Linked DNA regions of Homo sapiens: region 1 is linked to region 2. The links are contacts of gene promoters, found by promoter capture Hi-C in human tissues and cell types (Jung and others, 2019). All regions are on one chromosome and are shown on one strand. Each heading gives the region's core, a stretch centred on a gene start or on the middle of the fragment in contact. The rest is flanking DNA. Distances are from core to core; before and after follow the strand shown.

Region 1 (4,028 bases), core at 1,362-3,861, 500 kb after region 2:
GGGTGAATAAAGAGGAAAAAGCTAGTCTGGGAGCCAAATCAAAGCTGGAATTGACAGCAATTAGCAGATAATTCGCTGGCTGTTGTGCATGTGCCACATGTGGAGTTTGGAAGGAGAATGGAGGTGACAGTGGAAGGAAAAAGAATTGTTAACGATGGTTCCCAGGTTTCTGATTTCTGGAACTATATGGTCCAAAAGTGCCACTAACACTCATAGGAAATAAAGAAGGGCTCATTGTCCCACTGGGGTTTAAAATGCCCAGTTCCACGGCGGCTCACGCCTGTAATCCTAGCACTTTGGGAAGCCGAGCTGGGTGGATTCCCCGAGCTCAGGAGTTCGAGACCAGCCTGGGCAACATGGTGAAACCCTGTATCTACTAAAATATAAAAAATCAGCCAGGCCTGGTGGCAGGCACCTGTAATCCCAGCTGCTCAGGAGGCTGAGGCACGAGAATTGCTTGAACCAAGGAGGCAGAGGTTGCAGGGAGCCGAGATCGTGCCACTGCACTCCAGCCTGGGCAACAAAGTGAAACTTTGTCTCAAATAATAAAATAAAATGCTCAATCCATGGGGCTGGGATAAATACACATAGGTGCAACTACTAATAACAATACTAATAGCTAATAGTTAAATTCTCTTTGTTACAACTAGTGTAACTAGCTAACAGTTGTTGAATGTTTACTATGTGCCAGGCTTAGTGCTTAGAGAGGTAAAGTAATTGACCTGAGATTACACAGCAAGAAAGTACACAATCAGCACCAAGCCATTGTTTTTCTAAAATCATTGTTATTAGCCATTTTGCTCTACCTTCTCCAACCAGTTCTGAGACTACGACACTAAATCACCTTGCGTTTGTCTTCCCAATCAAGACCATCACTGAGGATGCTGGCCAGTCTGTCAGTCTACTTTACACTGTGGAAAGATTTACTTTTAAACTGAAGTTAGTAAGGCAAAGACAAAAACAACAACAAAACAACAATCAAGTAGTAAGTAATTTGTGCTTTGCCTTAAGAAACTCATGTGCTTGACCTATAAATCAATATACTCCACCCCAAAAATGGGAGCATCATGAAGAGAAACTTCAAAGATAAAGTTAGATAAAAATTAGAAATCAAGGTTGATTTAGGGAGGAAGAAAAGGCCAGGTGCTGGTTAAGCGATAACTCTAATTTCTTTGCTTTGCATCTCACCATATCAATAAATGACCCAAAGAGATTGTGTCTGTTTCACACACATGTGTACCAAGCAATGGTTTCTGGGTTAGCTAGTTGCTTTTTAAAGAACAGAAACAGCATTTGCATCCCATATCCATTTTTATTCTCTTGACACCTCCTAGAATATGGCTGTCTTCTCCAACAGCACTTGTAAAAGCACTACTAAACAAAATAAAGACAGAAAGGAAAAAGGTTTGTTTACTCACTCTAAACTTAAATGGGAAAGAAGAAGCAAGAAAGTTTTATTTATGTTTTTCAACTACTAGCAAGCTCAGGCAATCACTGACAAAATCATTTTCTACCCAGGTGGCTTTATCAAGTTAAAGGATTTCCTTATTAATCAGAAATACAAAGGGCAGTAGAAGCTAGTACAATGTAATAGTGTGTCCGGAATTGGTGGGTTCTTGGTCTCGCTGACTTCAAGAATGAAGCCGCGGACCCTCGCATGAGTGTTACAGTTCTTAAAGATGGTGTGTCCGGAGTTTGTTCCCTCAGATGTTCAGATGTGTCCGGAGTTTGTTCCTTCAGATGTTCAGATGCGTCCAGAGTTTCTTCCTTTTGATAAGTTTGTGGTCTCACTGACTTCAAGAGTGAAGCCGTGGACCCTCACAGTGAGTGTTACAGTTCTTAAAGATGGCGTGTCCAGAGTTTGTTCCTTCAAATGTTCAGATGTGTCCGGAGTTTCTTCCTTCTAGTAGGTTCATGGTCTTGCTGACTTCAGGAGTGAAGCCACAGACCTTCGCGGTAAGTGTTACAGCTCTTAAAGGCTGCGCGTCTGGAGTTATTCGTTCCTTCCGGTGGGTTCGTGGTCTTGCTGGCTTCAGGAGTGAACGTGCAGACCTTCGCGGTAAGTGTTACAGCTCTTAAAGGTGGGTGCAGACCCAAAGAGTGAACAGCAGCAAGATTTACTGCAAAGGGCGAAAGAACAAAGCTTCCATGGCATGGAAAGGAACCCGAATGGGTTTCTGCTGCAGGCTGGGGCAGCCTGCTTTTATTCCCTTATCTGACCCCACCCACATCCTGCTGATTGGTCCGTTTTACAGAGAGCTGATTGGTCTGTTTTGACAGGGTGCTGATTGGTGTGTTTACAATCCTCTAGCTAGACATAAAAGTTCTCCAAGTCCCCACTAGATTAACTAGACACAGAGCACTGATTGATGCATTTACAAACCTTGAGCTAGACACAGAGTACTGATTGGTGCATTTACAATCCTTTAACTAGACACAAAAGTTGTCCAAGTCCCCACTAGGTTAGCTAAATGCAGAGCACTGATTGGTGCATTTACAAACCTTGAGTTAGACACAGGGTGCTGATTGGTGCATTTACAAACCTTGAGCTAGACACAAAGTGCTGATTGGTGCATCCACAAACCCCGAGCTAGACACAGAGTGCTGATTGGTGCATATACAATCCTCCAGCTAGACATAAAAGTTCTCCAAGACCCCACCCGACTCAGGAGCCCAGCTGGCTTTGCCTAGTGGATCCAGTGCCTGGGCCATGGATGGAGCTGCCCACCAGTCCCACACCACGCACCTGCACACCTCAGCCCTTGGGTGGTAGATGGGACCAGGCGCCGTGGAGCAGAGGGCGGCGCTGGTCAGGTAGGCTCGAGCTGTGTGGGAGCCCATGGAGGGGAGGGTGGGGGTGGGGTGGCAGGGGAGGAGGTGGGGTGGCGGGGGAGGAGGGTGGGGTGGCGGGGGGGAGAGAAAGAAAAAGGGGGAGGGGGAGGGGGAGGTTGTGGGGGGCAGGGGGAGGGGGGAGAGCAGGAGTGGGGGGTGGGGAGAGGGGAAGAGGGAAGTGGGGGAGAGAGGGGGCAGGGGAGGTGGTGCAGAGGAGCTAGGCAGAGGGGACAACATGGTGGGGTACAGGAACCAAGCCCTGCCCCGTGGGGAGGCAGCTGAGGCCCAGTGAGAATTCAAGCACAGTGCCGGCGGGCTGGCAGTGCTGGGGGACCCGGCGCACCCTCTGCAGCTGCTGGCCCAGGTGCTAAGCCCCTCACTGCCCAGGGGCCGGCCGCTCTGACTGTGGGGCCCACTGAGCCTGCGCCCACCCGGAACTCGTGCTGGCCTGCGAGCACTGCCCGCAGCCCCAGTTCCCACCAGCGCCTCTCCCTCCACACCTCCCCGCAAGCCAAGGGAGCTGGCTCCAGCCTCCACCAGCCCAGAGAGGGGCTCCCACAGTGCACTGGCAGGCTGAAGGGCTCCTCAAGTGTGGCCAGAGCAGACGCCAAGGCCAAGGAGGCACTGAGAGTGAGCGAGGGCTGCTAACACATTGTCATCTCTCGATAGGATTATTTTGGGAAGTGATGTTAGGTTTTTAAATTTGTAGCTTTCTAATGTGTACCCTTTTATTTGAACATGTGCTTCAAATGTGCAAGTGTCAGATGTCTAAAGGATGCCAGCAAATCTGATGTGACGGTTAAACTCACCCCAAATTGTTGAGAGCTCTGTTCCCAGCCAAGCCATCATGAGCTATTACCTAGATGACAGTAATCACTACCAATTTCCAAATCACTTCCCGGCTTCCAATCTTACCACCCCATACTCTTTTCTCTACAAAGCAGCCCATTCATTCTTATTGCTGTACACTATTGCATTGAGTGAGTATATGTCAGTTTATCGATCCATTCTACTGTTGATGGACATCTGAGTAGTTTAATGCTGCTGCAAATCTTCTAGTATTCATCTTTTTGGTACACATACAGGCATAGTTTAGTTAGGTATATTTAGTTAGGTATATTCCTTGGAGTGAATTGGCTGAGTCATGGGGTAGATAGACAGATATACCCCATGACTCAGCAAATTCACTCCAAGGA
Region 2 (3,791 bases), core at 490-2,989:
GCCACCATGCCTGGCTAATTTTTGTATTTTTAGTAAAAGCGAGGTTTCACCATGTTGGCCAGGATGGTCTCGGTCTCTTGACCTTGTGATCCACCCACCTTGGTCTCCCAAAGTGCTGGGATTACAGGCATAAGCCACCGCACCCAGCCTCTGATTTTTATCTTTTATCTTCTTTTTATATCCTTAGTTTGTTTATAAATAGGCAGAAGAAAATCTAGTTATAGAGACAGATCCAAAAAGTTTTATTTATGAATTGGTCATAGATGGAGAAGGAAAAAAATAATTAGTGTTGAAACCCACTATTTTAACCAGAACAACAAATGAGTTTAAAAGAATGCAACTTAGTGAGATAGGAAAAACTGGGGGAGGAGTATGTGTAAGAGAAAATAATAATTTCTTCTTCTATCACTACCATGTAATAAAATAAAGAGCATTTTTAACATCAAAAAAGACATAAACCCAGATATTTTTAAATGAATACTTTTGATTTTCTGAAAAATTCACTAGATGGTCTTTTTTTCTTTTTCATTTTGTGGTGAATTAATGAAAACTTCTGGCATTAAGGAACACTTGCGGTAGATAATGGAAGGATTTATATTTCAGGAAAACTCACTCTGGTACCTGTATAGAGAATAGACTGGAAAAGATTGAAGACAAAAGCCCAATTAGGACTAGTAATAGGAAGCTGTGGAGGTAGATTACAATTTGGATACTGTGAGGAAGAAAGATATCTACCAAACGGTTAATAAGGAGGCTGGAGGTTGAGGAAATTGTGCCTAATGCACTAGAGTGTTCTCAGTAATCAAAAGTAGCATTTGCTGGGAGTGATGTGGTTGAATTTTTTTTTGAAGAAAAAATGATAATGTGTTGAGTTAAAAATGGAATCTAGCTGTTTTAATAGACATACTTAATCCTTCTGAGCTTCAGAGAGGGAGTCTTGCCTAGCCAACCTGTTCTTAGTATTATGTTTTATTTAGCATGGCTTTGGAAGCCACAAAACTCTATAGGTCTAGTTGAAATAAAATAAAATAGTAGTAACTTGTATCAGACATATATTAAATATTGCCTTCATCAATGAGATCATGAGTTTCTTAAAAGCAAGAGTCCCATTTTCTTCTTCCTACAGAGGTGGCCTATTGTTTAGTGAAAAGAGCCCACGCCTTGGAGACCCACACCGCAGGTCTACGACCCTCAGGCTCTTCAGCTGCAATGGCGGTAATGATGCGCACGTCATAAGATTCTTCAAGGTATTTAATGAAATAAAGGATGTGTAAAGGAGAAGGGATTTTACATGAGTTAGCTATACCTTTCTCTTCTTTCTTCTTCAACGTACTCAGTCCTGGGTACGCACAGAGGGCACTAATGGCGTGGGGCCAGAAGAGCTTTTAATTTTGGAATTCTGAAGAACTGAGAACTCGTGAGTCTGTCAGCAGCTCTGAAGTGGAATATCAATAAAGTTTTGTTAATTTTTTTTAAAGCACCGACTAAACTACAAATCCCTTCTCTCTCCTCCAGGTGGGTGGGTCACGTGGCTTGTCAGGAATCCGGAAGTCTGGCCCGCTCGCCCAATCACGCCCGGAAGCCTATCTAGTGGCGCCAAGCTGGCCAATCCTGGGGACGCTTGCTCTTCGCCAAACCGGGTCCCGCCTCCGCGCGCCGCGCTGACGGGTCGTTAGCGGATACGGCGGCCGCAGGGGCGGAGTCAAGGGCCTTTGCCCGCCTTGGCGGCCGGCTCTACGTTCCCTGTTCTCGCCTGCAGCTCCGCCATGGCTCCTAAAGGCAGCTCCAAACAGCAGTCTGAGGAGGACCTGCTCCTGCAGGATTTCAGCCGCAATCTCTCGGCCAAGTCCTCCGCGCTCTTCTTCGGAAACGCGTTCATCGTGTCTGCCATCCCCATCTGTGAGTGCTGGGAGCGAGGCGGGTTAGGCAGGCCGCCGGCTAGTCGGGCTGGGCGGGGACGTGGCAGGACCCGGCGAGCAGGGAAGGCGTGGGTGCCGGCCGGGGGTCGGCAATCTCTCCAGCTCCCCTGAGCTCGGGGAGGCACGGAGCCTCTTCTTTGGGCACAGTGTTGTCGCTTGGGATTGTCCTGTGCAGCACTCGGGGAGGTCACTTGTTAAAAGTACGCACGTTCCCGAGCTCCACCCCAGGAGAAGGTGGTTAACTAGTTCTGGGGTGGCGGCCCCGAATCTCTATTTAAACAGACAAACTCAAGCATACTGCCTCTGCCCTTTTCTATACAACTGTTGCTTGCCGTTACGAAATTTTAAACTTATTACTTATTTTGCATAAATTAGTTAGGTGAGAAACCCATGAAGTGACCCACTGAATTATAAGTGCATCTTTACGTGAGCTACTTCACACCATTGCATAATTTTCCTGGTTTTTGCAAAAAGAGAGAGGTTGAAGTGCCAGGGGTTAGGGATCTACCTTATTTATACTTTTTAATAATCCTACTGGACCAATTCTAGAATTCTCACTTGGTTGGGAAACTGCAGACTTGGACAAGGTCGTTTTTAGTAGAGCTCAAGTTTCCAGAACTCCTGTCTTTTGCTGCACTGTTGTTGGGCATTTAAAACTAAATGTATTTTTCTCTTTTGTCCTTATACAACCCAGCGTGCCATTAACGTGATGTGAAGCCATATGATGGCTCACTAATTGGACATAGCACTGCTTGGAGTTCTGATAACAGCCACGTCAGCAAGGAAACTATGGTTTGGGGCTGCACGTGGCATTTTGGAATGGCCTGTGTTTCGCATGCTAGTACCCTGATGAATGAAATTTGAAGTCTGACTTGTGATTACGTTGAGCCAGAGTTTGTTCTCATTTTAGAAGTTGAAATCTCATCTGGACTAGTAATAGGAAGGTGATGTTTTTCAAATGTTCTGAACTGGAAAGCTTGAGACTATACTGTTACTGGTTATCTCGCTTCTGAAGATCCTCAGATACTATTGGATTGCATAACTAATAACCTGGTATTTTACCAGGCTTAGCTATAATTAATTTCGCAGGCTTTTGTTGCGGGGTTGTAATGTTTTGCTTCTTTTTGTACCCTTCCCCCTTTTATTTTAATTCAGGGTTATACTGGCGAATATGGCATATGGATCTTATTCAGTCTGCTGTTTTGTATAGTGTGATGACCCTAGTAAGCACATATTTGGTAGCCTTTGCATACAAGAATGTGAAATTTGTTCTCAAGCACAAGTAAGTATGTTTTTCAAGTGAAAGTACGTACTACATGTTATATTTTTATATGTCTTCTTAAAGATCATTTGTGTGTGTTGGTTTTAATAAGCATTAATTTGAGATATATATATTAATAAACATTTTGGGGGAAAGGAACATTGATGCTAGGAAGAATTATTAACTAACTGAAGTAGAGACAATGATCATTCTGACACGGCTACAGAAGCAGATTTTGAGGGTGGAATTAGAACACTTAAACACAGGCCTTAATATGAGGTTCATCAGAGAAACAAACCCACCAAGTAAGTTAACATTTCAGAAGCTAAATGTAATTCCTTATGGAGAGAATTGTTCTGGGCTCTTCACGTACTATTTTTGGAAGTTAAAGAAATGATCTTTTTGTCATTATTATTTTTTGAGACAAGGTCTAGTTCTTGCCCAGTCTGCAGTGCAGTGGCATGATTATGGTTCACTGCAGCCTCAACCTTCCCAGGCTCAAGGGATCCTCCCACCTCAGCCTCCCAAGTAGCTGGGCCTACAGGTGCAGGCTACCATGCCCAGCTAATTTTTTTGTAGAGACAGGCCATGTTGACCAGGCTGGTCTTTTT

What was found. The method cuts DNA at HindIII sites, captures the fragments that hold promoters and counts their contacts. A contact is called where the count stands out against the background at its distance.
Region 1: a fragment that was not itself captured here is called in contact with the fragment with the promoter of SSR3 in region 2 in 1 of the 25 tissues and cell types used here (mesendoderm cells).

The regions. Positions count from the first base shown.
Region 1 is chr3:156,051,074-156,055,101 of GRCh38, reverse strand. No RefSeq gene overlaps it. Among named protein-coding and RNA genes, the nearest start is that of KCNAB1, 67 kb to the left of the region's middle. The HindIII fragment of the contact is 4,265 bases long and covers 479-4,028 here.
Region 2 is chr3:156,553,065-156,556,855 of GRCh38, reverse strand. SSR3 (signal sequence receptor subunit 3) reads left to right here and starts at 1,739. Exons shown (of 5, transcript NM_007107.5): 1 at 1,739-1,899; 2 at 3,075-3,201. The coding sequence starts at 1,767. RefSeq lists an enhancer at 1,801-1,880. The HindIII fragment of the contact is 9,549 bases long and covers 1-3,791 here.